Linked DNA regions of Homo sapiens: region 2 is linked to region 1. The links are contacts of gene promoters, found by promoter capture Hi-C in human tissues and cell types (Jung and others, 2019). All regions are on one chromosome and are shown on one strand. Each heading gives the region's core, a stretch centred on a gene start or on the middle of the fragment in contact. The rest is flanking DNA. Distances are from core to core; before and after follow the strand shown.

Evidence for each region. Contacts are between HindIII fragments. The study calls those that stand out against the background at their distance.
Region 2: a contact is called between a fragment that was not itself captured here and the fragment with the promoter of RS1 in region 1, in 2 of the 25 tissues and cell types used here (dorsolateral prefrontal cortex and heart left ventricle).

Annotation. Positions count from the first base shown.
Region 1 is chrX:18,667,572-18,674,742 of GRCh38, reverse strand. It overlaps RS1 (retinoschisin 1), which reads left to right and starts at 2,635. Exons shown (of 6, transcript NM_000330.4): 1 at 2,635-2,726. The coding sequence starts at 2,675. The HindIII fragment of the contact is 16,600 bases long and covers 1-7,171 here.
Region 2 is chrX:18,620,174-18,625,424 of GRCh38, reverse strand. CDKL5 (cyclin dependent kinase like 5) reads right to left here. Exons shown (of 18, transcript NM_001323289.2): 17 at 178-297. Among named protein-coding and RNA genes, the nearest start is that of RS1, 49 kb to the left of the region's middle. The HindIII fragment of the contact is 4,270 bases long and covers 1-3,385 here.

The DNA of each region.
Region 1 (7,171 bases), core at 1,386-3,885:
GAAATGACAGATACCCTCTCCTATCCCACAAGGTCACTGCCGCCATAGTCCGACATGAGAAGTAGTGGAGGGCAGGGGCCGGGCGAAGTCCTAGACCCGATCCGGCGCCCCCGATCCGGCCGGGCCCTACCCCACCTCTCCTCCCAGTACGCCTCGGAAAATCGGGCGCTCGGGGAATGCACCTGGCTGCCCTTTGCCTGCAAGCCAGCAAGGGCCGGCCACCCAACCTCCAACTAAAATGTGGCAGGCAATACAGCAGCGCTTTGACTGCAGGTGAATTATTAAAGGTCGGTCATGATTATGACTCTGATTAAAAGTTCTATTTTTCATTAAACTCTGATGTGCAGAGCACGAAAAAAAAAAAACCCCACAGTCCCTTTTAATGCAGCAGTAGAATTTGTGGAATAGAGTTCATACACAGTATAAAATAAATGTCAGGCTTGTAGACATTCAATAAATACTGGTTGAATGAGCAAACGTTTCTCTAGTTTCTTTCTGTTCCTCTTTACTATTTCATTACAGTTTCCTTTGGGGAGTTTATTATTTGTTTAAATATTGGCTTTTTTATCTTTGACAAGAGGAATGAGGGTGTGGGCCATGGTGAGATGGTGGTAGCAAAAAATATAAAATGGGAAGGGGCACTCAGTATTTTTCTCTGCATTTTCAACCTAGTTATGCATCCTTAACAGTGTAGAAATTTGCGTCTTTTTCTAACTTGAGTGTAACTCTTTCCCTGTTATTACAATCACTTCATCAACTTTATTCTTTTTTTTTTTTTTGGAGGCGGAGTCTCACTCTGTCGCCCAGGCTGGAGTGCAGTGTCGTGATCTCAGCTCACTGCAACCTCTGCCTCCCGGGTTCACACCATTCTCCTGCCTCAGCCTCCCGAGTAGCTGGGACTACAGGCGCCTGCCACCTCGCCCGGCTAATTTTTTGTATTTTTAGTTGAGACGGGGTTTCACCGTGTTAGCCAGGATGGTCTCGATCTCCTGACCTCGTGATCCGCCCGCCTCGGCCTCCCAAAGTGCTAGGATTACAGGCTTGAGCCACCGTGCCCGGCCTTTTTTAAAACCACCTTAACCATTTTTTTTTTTTTTTGAGACAGAGTCTGGCTCTGTCACCCAGGCTGGAGTGCAGTGGTACAATCTCGGCTCACTGAAACCTCGGCCTCCTGGGTTCAAGCGATTCTCCTGCCTCAGCCTCCCGAGTAGCTGAGATTATAGGTGCACGCCACCACGCCCGACTAATTTTTGTATTTTTGGTAGAGACGAGGTTTCGCCATGTTGCCCAGGCTGGTCTCGAACTCCTGACCTCAAGTGATCTGCCTGCCTTGGCCTCCCAAAGTGCTGGGATTACAGGTGTGAGCCACCACCTCCAGCCCACCATAATCATTTTTAAGTGTACAGTTCAGTAGTGTTAAGTATATTCACATTGTTGTGAAACAGATCTCGGGAACTTTTTCATCTTGCAAAACTCAACTCTATACCTATTAAACAACTCCCCTTTTCCTCCCATCAACTTTATTCTGAATGGTGATGTAAAAATAATAGCTAATTATGTCTAGCACTGTGCTAAGTATTTTATACATATGATCTCTTGTAAGCCTCAAAATAACTCTCGAAAGTAGGCATTATTATCATCATCTTACAGATGAGAAAGTTTAGGCGCAGAGATATTAATAACTTGCCCTGAGGTCACAATGTAACAAGTGCTAGTGCTGCGATTTGGCACCCAGTCTGGGTTGGCAGTCTGTGCTCTTAAACCTACCAGGCTGCACTCATCTCTTGATTTACTTAACCAGCCCCCTAACCTTGGCCATTTAGATTGTTTCCAATTTGTTGTTGTTAAAAGTAACACAGCAATGCACAGCTTTGTGTTAACTGTCCTCCCACCACCACCAAATTTAGCATTTTCCTGAGTGAATAGGTGTGCACATGATGCCTAGTTGCTTTCAAAGAGGGGAATCCATGACATTTTCATACAATTCGAGAATGTTAGTGCTTATGTGGCAGGAAATTGTTCAAGGTCACCCCCTAAAAAATGATGGCGAAGAAAGGACGAAAACCTGAGACTTCTGGTTGTAGTTCTCTCCCTCCATTGCTTCCCTTACATTAAGATAGAATGAACAGTATGGGCCGGGCGCAGTGGCTGACGCCTGTAATCCCAGCACTTTGGGAGGCCGAGGTGGGTGGATCACCTGAGGTCAGGAGTCCGAGACCAGCCTGACTGACATGACGAAACCCCATCTCTACTAAAAATACAAAAATTAGCTGGGCGTGGTGGCGTGAGCCTATAATCCCAGCTACTCGGAAGGCTGAGGCAGGAGACTAGATTGAACCCGGGAGGCAGAGGTTGCAGTGAGCCGAGATGGCGCCATTGCACTCCAGCCTGGGTGACAAGAGCGAAACTCCATCTCAAAAAAAAAAAAAAAAAAAAAAAAAAGAACGAAAAGTATCTTCCTCGCGAACTGAATCTCAGTTGATGCTAGTATCTTCCATGAGACTTCCTTGTTGAGGCAGGTAACTCTGTGGGTTAACTTGATGGGGCTCAGCCAAAGACCTAAGAACTAAATGGATTAAGATGCTTAATGAGGCCAGGGCTCAACTTAATCCCCTGCTCCTGGGCCAGCTCTCCAGTTCAGTAAGGTAGAGCTTTGGCCGAGGACGAGGGGAAGATGTCACGCAAGATAGAAGGCTTTTTGTTATTACTTCTCTTTGGCTATGAAGGTATGTGCTATTCAACCATTGACATTCATTGCATACTTAATACATAATTTAATTAATATCGTTGATAAATAGGAATATAGCCTGAATAATATAAATATTATTAATTAGCAACACGTTAATTAACTAACATGTGTTATTAATGAACAACAGTTGTCTTTGTGTGGATGGCTTTCCAGTTCTGTGAGGAGCCTTCTAAAGTTCAAAGGATGCTTAAAATCCAACAGAAAACAGGATGGGTCTCAGAAATCTATAAAATAGCCATAAGTTGCAACAATTAATGAGAAAGTATGGCATATTCTGGAAAACTTTTAGGAGTCAAAGTGGGAGTGATTGTAGAATTTAATATTCCAAACCGGAATGCTATTGACGGTGGAGGACGATGCTATTAATAATTCTGTTGGGACGACAGGTGTAACCCAGGACCATCCAGGGCAAATTGGGGTGTAAGGTCAACCTAGTTTAAATATGGATTAACGTAACATACCCAGTACCACTGGAATCTAATAAAAAACATAATCCAACTGAGAGTCAGGAAACCTCGGAGACTCAGTACACTCACTCATTTTAAAATTTCTAAATATGACCCTAGCAGAAGTGATATGCTTCAATTAGGAAAAAATAAGGGCAAATCTGTAAAATGTCATCCAGTTCCAATTCCCTCTCAATCTTTGAAATAATATTCTTTCATGCCTCTCTCAATTCTCAAGTACCCATCTGCTCAGAATTTCTCCTCAGGTTCATCCAGATGTTAGAAATTGGTTGCCTGTCTTCTTTGTGGACATCGTGTATTTGTGTGTTATAGAAAATAAATTAAAAAGCAGGGAGAAGGAGGTCTCTGTGCTCTGCAAATGACCTGGTAGACAGACACAGCGAAACTCACACAAGTAGAATCAGAATTCTTGGTTTCACGGCTCACTGTAGCCTCAACCTCCCAGGCTCAAGCCATCCTCCTGCCTCAGCCTCCCTAGTAGCTGGGACTACAGGCACGCACCACCACATCCGGCTAATTTATTGTATTTCTTGTAGAGAGGGGTTTTCACCATGTTTCCCAGGCTGATGACTTTTGTTACTTAGTCACATTTCTCAGTATTTGGAAAGACTGGTGACAATATAATTCCAAGGTCATTCTGCAAACCCCAAGGTATATTTCTAAGTAGGGATCATGTAAACCAGTTGTCTGTTAGGATTTTTTCCCCTTGCAATTAATAGTCTGCAACTTGTCCCAGTAACTCTGACTACTTTAAGATGCTTTGGGGTTTTGTTGTTTTTCCTTTTACTCCTTGCCCCCTCCTCTTTCCTCAGCAAGAAAATCTAAGCAGACTCTTTCAAGGCTTAGATCTAAATACTCCTGGTTGTCAGACACTCCCAGGGCTCACTCTCGGATTTCTCTTCTTTGTGATTGGCATGGAGATTCATTCATTCATTCCTTGGTCCCTTCTTTTAAGAGCTCATCCCTGACTATCTGCTAGGGGGCAAACATTGTGTATGACGGCGGGGCGCGGTGGCTCATGACTGTAATCCCAGCACTTTGGGAGGCTGAGGCGGGTCTATCACCTGAGGTCAGGAGTTTGAGACCAGCCTGCCCAACCTGGTGAAACCCCGTCTCTACAAAAATACAAAAAGTATCTGGGCATGATGGCAGGTGCCTCTAATCCCAGCTACTCGGGGGAGGCTGAAGCGGGAGAATCGTCTGATTGCTGGAGAGGGAGGTTGCAGTGAGCTGAGATCATGCCATTGCACTCCAGCCTGGGTGACTGAGCGAGACTCAGTCTCAAAAAAAAAAAAAAAAAAAAGGACTTGACATGCAGGGCATCCTTGTTTCTTCCACAGTGCTGAGTCTAACAACCCTGTTCTGTGACCTCCCCACCCCCGCGATGCGAAGAAGTCCTAGAAATGTTTACCAAAGCATTTTAAAATTAGACCTGCCCAGTTAGTGGATATCAGCAATAAAAGACAGGCTGTCAGGAGGCATGAAGGATAGCACTCTTTCGTGTTCTAAAGTTTACCAATCTTTGTGCATGGCTGGGGAGCTCCAGAAATGTCCACGAAGAGCAGAGAACATCGTCTCTCCAGGTGCCCTGCAACGTGGGCCAGTGGGAAGGTTTGGGGAGCTTAAATTATCTTACTTGCTTAACGCAGGCCTTTAACAGCACTTGAAAGGAAAGCAGCCAGCCAAAAATAGCCAGTGTGGCTTGGCAACCTACTGTGTGCCCTACCCTGGGCCAGAGGGATGCTCCAGGGGACAGAGGACACAATCACTGAACTTAATCAGCATATTATCCAGATGGAGATGCATAAGGCCCATAGACATGGGAAAGATGCATCCCATTGTACAGCTGGGAACCTGAAGACAAAGGCTGTTTGTCCAATTTACCCTCCACTGCTTCTGTCCTTCAGTGGCAGTGTCTCCTCATTACAGTGAAATAAGGTAAAGAAATTGCCTTCACTTAGGCGTTGGATGAAGGTTCATTTCGGAGAGCACACAGCCTCACAGTAAGGCATTTCCTATGTCTTTTTTTTTTTTTTTTTGAGAATTTCACTCTTGTTGCCCAGGCTGGAGTGCAGTGGCGTGATCTCGGCTCACCACAACCTCCATCTCCCGGGTTCAAGCGATTCTCCTGCCTCAGGCTCCCGAGTGGCTGGGATTACAGACGTGTGCCACCACGCCCGGATCATTTTTGTAATTTTAGTAGAGACGGGGTTTCTCCATGTTGGCCAGGCTGGTCTCGAACTCCCGACCTCAGGTGATCTGCCTGCCTCGGCCTCCCAAAGTGCTGGGATTACAGGCATGAGCCACCGCACCTGGCTTCCTATGTCTTATAATTGAGTCAGGCTTCTATTTCTCTTACACCGCACATATTGGATTCAATGCCAATAAGGATTTTTAGAACATCCATCGTATTAAAATATCTTACTTCATTACTTGGTCATGTTTATTATATAAAAACAAAAAAAGTCCTTCAGCCTCAACTTATAGGTGACTGTGTTACCATCAGAGATTGCAGGGGTTTTTTTAAAGCAGTTTTATTGAGATGTAATTTATATACTCTTAAATTCACCCATTGAAAGTCTATTGTTCGATCGTTTTAAGTATATTTACAGATTTGTGGAGCACATAATCTAATTTTAGAACATTTTCATCACCCAAACATTAAGCCCTCGCTCCCCATTCTCCCTGTCTCCCCCCTCCCCCAGCCCCTGGGCAACCACGGATCGACTTTCTGTCTCTAAAGATTTGCCAGTTCTGGACAGTTCATTTCAATGGAGTCACACAGCATGTGGTCTTTTGTCTTTCGCTTAGCATATGTGGTTGAGGTTCATCTGTGTTTGAAGCATGTGCAGATAACAGATTTACCCATGAATATGCCTGTCGCCTAAAATAGTAACACTTTCACACCAGAAGCAATTTCCTTCTTTCTCTTTCACGAGAGGGACATTATTGCAGCCTGCTGCGTGCGTTCCTCCTGTTTCTCAAGCAGATTGGAAGCTGGTTACAGACCATTTTTAATCATTCATAATTTTATGCTTTTCTTCTCGGCTTCATCTGTTTCCATGGGAAGGAACGCTCTATGGTTGGTGATACCCAATCCAAGAGACTAAACTAGGTTTTCCTGTGTGTATCTAAAGCGCGCCTTTCCTCATGGGTTGCAAGGTACATTTCAAGAAATAGACACGCCTTGAAATTTCCTGCTGTGACAACAAGGGTTTCCTCACAGCAGAGTGGCCCTTTTGGACCAAGGGGCAGAATGAGCCCATATTGCATAAATCTAAGCCCACATTGCATAAATCTAAGATTGGTGACTGGCGGATGTCTCATGTAACATGTGGCGGAATCACAGAAGCCATCTAAACAGGGAGAAAAATATGCAACCACATAATCGAAATATTTCACTATTTTTCCTTTAGAGGCTGAGATATTTCTCTTGTTCCCCTTCCAACAATGCTATTTTCTGGTATGATACTATTAGGTTGGTGCAAGAGTAACTGCGGTTTTTGCCATTACAATATGTTGTCGCCAAAAATGCTTTTGTTCTCCAGTTTGTTGGTGATTAAATCATTGTGTGGGACTGCAGCAGCCATGTTGCTTCTCCTTTGGTGACAGCTTTTTCTGTAAAACGCCTGTCGTTCCTTCTCTCTCTGCTCACTTCCATAAGGATATGGTACCTCAGAACCCCAGGCTGTCTACAGACAAATGCTTTCTGCGGGAGGGGAGTCTGGGAAGAAAAGAAATGCAAGAAATGGGTCCAAAATTGGATTGCACCCAGGAATTGGCTCTGAAAGCAGGCCTCTCTTCCTTGGACTCTAGGTTTGCTCAGTGACAGCTCAACAGACCAGACTCTCTTCAGTGACATACATGGCCTTTGAGCCAAGTGGATTTGGTTATGAAAGCCACACTGTCAGTGACCACCAACACCCCTTGCCTTTGGTCTCCCAAAAAGAGGATC
Region 2 (5,251 bases), core at 1-2,500, 48 kb after region 1:
GCAAGATTCATCCTGGCTCACGAGATGCATCTGGCTATAACTGAGGGTCTATTTTGAGGAGGTGCTCAGCCTTACTGTAACATTGAGAGGCTAAGTTTTCTCTAGCATGCCCTCCCCGCTCCTCAGGACAGTTACTGGAGAGTTGGAGAGTCTAGCAGTGGTGCAGGATCCACTCACTTGGGTCTGCAGATCTGAGATCTTCTCGGGGCGCCACTCCTTTGGTCTGCTGCTTGGAGTGCTAGCAGAATGAATGGATTTCTGCAACGTCAGAAGATCAGGGCTGTCGGAATTGGGTACCTAGAGCAAAATATGGACAAGCATTCAATAAGCACACTGAGAAGCCTAATTAAGATATGCAACCACACCCAAGAGGAGAACCAAACTAAAAAGCAAACCAAACCAAAACTCAAATAACCCAGTAAAAATAGAACCCCAATCTCTCCCAATGTTCACAATGCAAGTGATGCTAGTTAAATTCTTCTGCCCTCTTAATAATTTTCCCTGCATTAGGAAAAATTGGCAGATGTCATGCAGCTTTGTTAAACCTCAACCCTTAAAGCATTCCCATGCTGTTAGTTTTAGTCGCTGTAAGAGAGAGCAGTTAAATAGGGCTGTACCAGGAATTGCTGTCGTATCCTCATTCCATATTGCAGTTAGGTTGTGAACCAGTTCAATAAAACAGAAATTTTTTCCTGCTGGGAAAATGATCCAAACACTGTATATGGTAGTGCCAAAGAAGTCTGGTAGGCTTTCAAGGATAGCAAAGTGAGAAAGTATGGTTTGGATCATATTCCCAAACCACTGTCTGATATATCTGGATCTATCATTATGTACTAGAGAAATGCTGGAAATCTGTGCCACAAATTCCAGATGAATGCAATTGCTCTATTCACCAGTTTTGGTGAACACAGAAGAGTAATGTCAAATGCCAAGCAAAAGCCCTGGTTTTAAACTGACCAGCAAAAGCTCAAGCCAGACAAGGAAACAAGCTGTTTTTTCATGGAGCCTGTTAGCTCATTCAATTTGGTCAATTCAACTTGGCTTCAAAAAGACAAATTGCCAATCAAGTGTTAACAAACTCTGTGAGTCAAATGCAAAGATATTTGTTAACTGTAAATGTTAACAGAATTCCTTACATAAAATACAGGCTTTTATAAATGTTATCTGCCCATAACTGGCTAATCAGACATGACAAACTAGCCTTTCACTAGTTTGTTTGCTTAATAGACTTTGTGCTTCAACTTTCTTAACTGATTCAGAAGAATGGCAATGAATTTATATCCCAGTGAATTTATGGAACTGGCTCACGTACTTAACTAGCATAAAGAGAATATGACCTCATGAAAATAAGACATGCTGTTGTCATCAGTAAAACAAGTTTACTGGAGCAGTTTTCAGGGCTACCATACATAAAAACGGGTACCATGGGTGGAGTGACTACAGGAAGCTTTTTCAAAGAAGAACTATGCTTTAAATGATTCTTTGAATTAAAAAGAGGAAAGAGGGATTTCTTGATGCTTGGATTCTCCCCGTTGGTGGAATCTGTCTGCAATATAAGATACAAATAAACTAATTGCAAAAAAAAAAAAAAGTGCTCTTATTGAAACTACTAGCCCTTGGAAGCCCTCAAATTGCTAAATATTAACAGTCACTGAAAGAATCTCGGTGCTGTGCATCTAGAGCTTCTGTGCCAATTCTCACCTGGATGTGAAGATGTCAATAATGCAAATTCAAGACAAGCACAAACTTCTTCTAAGTATATAATGTGAGATCATGATCAATACCTCTAGTAGGAATGCCAAGAGACCTAGACACACCTACTCACATTAAGCTTATAAAACGTTAAATAATTTTTACTTACTATCAGAAATATGGTTATAAAGAACTGTGTTAAAGAGCTACTGATAAACTTCAATCTTCTCCTAATTGCTAGAGAGGACTTCAGCAAGTAAAAAATCTACCATGTAATTTGCCTATTAGGAGAAAAAAAATCCCAACATACTGGAAACCCTTTCGAATTTGGTCAACTTTTAAGCCTGAAAACATCACTAGGAAGAGGTATTGATCACTGTGGTGGGATACTAATGTTGAGTAAGAGGCCTTGTTCTGTACTGCTAGAAATATTTACCCAATGGAAAACATCTAGCACAATTCAGATACTGGTTTTCAAAGAGAAGAAACAGAAATTTCAATATTTAAATGGAAGCATCATCACAAGTTGAGATACTAACTAACTAGGATACAATTACCAAGTTGGCAAAGTCACCATATGCTCTGAGGACTTATGTAACTCTGGATATGTAACCAAAGCCAGATTTCCCAAGGCAGCTTCCAGATTTGCTTGAGTCGAAGCAGGCACCTTTACAATACAGAATTATTTTTTTTTGTCACCACTTTTCCCTGTTTTGGATATCTCAATTGTCAGAGAACTAGAATGTCTATGAAGGTATTCAAGTATTTAGGTAATCTTTTAAGGGTATATGTAAAAAGGGATTTGAGTAAAACATCCCACAAATTTTCTTGTTCCAATGACAGGAACCTCGAGGAAGAGTTTAACTTGCATCGCTGAAGAGGCCAGAGGAGAGCTCCTAGAGGCTCCCCACAGAGGCGGGTCCATGGTATGAATTGAGCCTGGACTTGGTATTTAGGAGAACGCAGTTCTGGTTCTCCCAGTTGATTATGTGATTTTTGGGCTTTGAAGCAAGCCCACAACTTGCTTGGGCTCAGTTCCTATACCAGTGAATAAAAAAATTCAACTAGATTTAGGATCCACCTCAGCTTTAACATGTCATGCGTCTCTATGTACACTGGGCATCAGATTTTCATTCTTTTGGAATCTTATGCAAAGGCCACAATGCCTTAAATCTTTTGAAGCTTATTCTATGTAGTTTCTTTTTGCTGAGTTCTAGAAAGTGAAAAACTATTAACAGTTTAAATGCTCATTCAAAGTAGGCAGAGTTAACCCAATGTCAGGCGTAGGACTCTGAGGTTTGGAAGGCTGTACTGAGCGCTCTTTGGAAATCCCAAAGCCCTTAAATTTTATGTTTCATTTAATTAAAAGATGCAGAGATACAAACAACTTTTGGGTTGGTAAAGCTTAAGGCATTATGGCCTATGCAGAGATATTCTACAGTTACTTTAATATCAAAAAGGAAACTTATGAAAACCTAATAAAAAGTTTAAGTCGAGAGGATGTTAGAGAATGGTTATTTTCCTTTTTACTCTAATCTATATTACTAAAATATCTAAAATTTAACTAAATTCTGAATAATAAAGTCAGCCAACATGTATACTCTACTTGTGCCACAGTGAGCCAGGGACTTTAGGTTTAATGTTGCTCTACAGTAAACATCAAAATCTAAATCTATATACAAAAACACCTTCAATTCCTTAATCTTTCCTACTTTCTACCACTTAATCACCCCACAATGCCAGGAGACCTGTGGTTTAGAACAAAAACCACAAAATAAAAATAACAGTGGTCAGGAGGTAGCCAAAGTTTAACGCTCATGATAGAGAAACATGTTCTACAGACAATGATAAAAGTTTTATTAACACTTTAAACATTTTAAGTATTCCTATGTTAAATCAGGTCTATTTGTTCACCCAGTTTAAGTAACAATTATAGTAGTATCTGACTGAGTGGCATTTTGATTTGACACTTTAAAAGTAAGCTTCAGTTAAAAATATGGGCAGTTTTTTTAATGACTACTTCAGAAATATTATGCAGCCATTAGGATTGAAGATAATAAAGTATTTGTAGTAACATACATATTCTGTGCATGTAGATATAGATAGATAAACTGTTAAAAGCCAGAATACAAAATCGTACTAAAAGGATTGCTCTAATTTAAAACTTAAAAAACAAACAAACAAAAAAAAACCCCACCTTCTTGCCACAAACATATGCATAGGCTAAACAGCTGGAGGAAAATATACCAAAATCCTAATACTAGTTGTGGTAGGGTATTAAGATTTAAAACGATCTTTTTCTTTTTCTCAAATTTTCTATAATGAACTCATATTTATTTTATAAGGAAATACATAAATTTAACAAGCAAGCAAGTGAAAGAATGATCTAGAAAGATTATCTAGGAAGGTATTTGTTAACATTTCTAGAACATCTGTGAGATAAAAATGCTTACTTCAGGTTATTTATACACATTGCTATGAACATCTACCTAATCTACTTCCCATTGAGTCATAATTCTATAATTTTCATAATAGAAAGGGCCTCAGAAACACTGGGTCTAATCTACTAAACTTATAGATGAAATCAGTGAAGTCCATCTGAACAGGCCATTTTGATTGTGTCTTTTTCCTCTTCAAATAAATAAGAATAAATTACGTATGAAGTAAAACTAGAACCAAAACCATTCAAAATGGCTAACTAGGCCAGGCACAGTGGCTCATGCCTAGCACTTTGGGAGGCCTAAGTGGGCAGATTGCTTGAGCTCAGGAGTTCGAGACCAGCCTGGGCAACATGGTGAAACCCTGTCTCTACAAGAAATACAAAAAATTAGCTGGGTGTGATGGCGTGCACCCAGTTATTTGGGAGGCTGAGGTGGGAGATCACTTGAGCCCAGGAGGTAGAGGTTGCAGGGAGCTGAGATCATGCCACTGCACTCCAGCCTGGGCAACAGGGTGAGACCCTGTCTCTAAAATAAATAAATAAATAAAAACGGCTAACTCTACCTTGTTTAGCCTTGAAGTTGTCATAAAGAAAAGGGGGATGCAGCCTCATCTAGGGGAAGAACTACTCCTGCTGCTGTCCTACAGGCCGGGTTTCCCCAAGGTTCTCATGTCACTAAACCAGCAGGATCCTTGCTTGGGTGGTTCAGTGAAGTGATGTGAACGGTCCCATGGAGCCAGCTCTTTGTTCAGGCAAAGGGCTCCCAGGAGATAAGGTGCATTCCAACCCACAGCGCGATCAAAAGGCAAACATATTTTCCTTCTAACGCAAGCCCTAAAATCCCAGATACGATCTTTGTGACTATATAACTCAGAAACACACCTGGCAACGTAGGAATTCTGTAACCAGCCAGGAGAGAATAAGGAATGATGGTTATTTACAAATTTCAACATTTAAAAGTAAACCAAAACCCATTTCCTAAGTTTATGCATATCTTTAAATCCCCAGAGAGAAACAAATCCTGTGTCTTCAAAGTTTTTACATTAATATAAGCCCACATAGATAAGAAGTATATTGAGAAAGGCTTAAAGTGTTCTCTGTCATCCAAATTAAATTTCT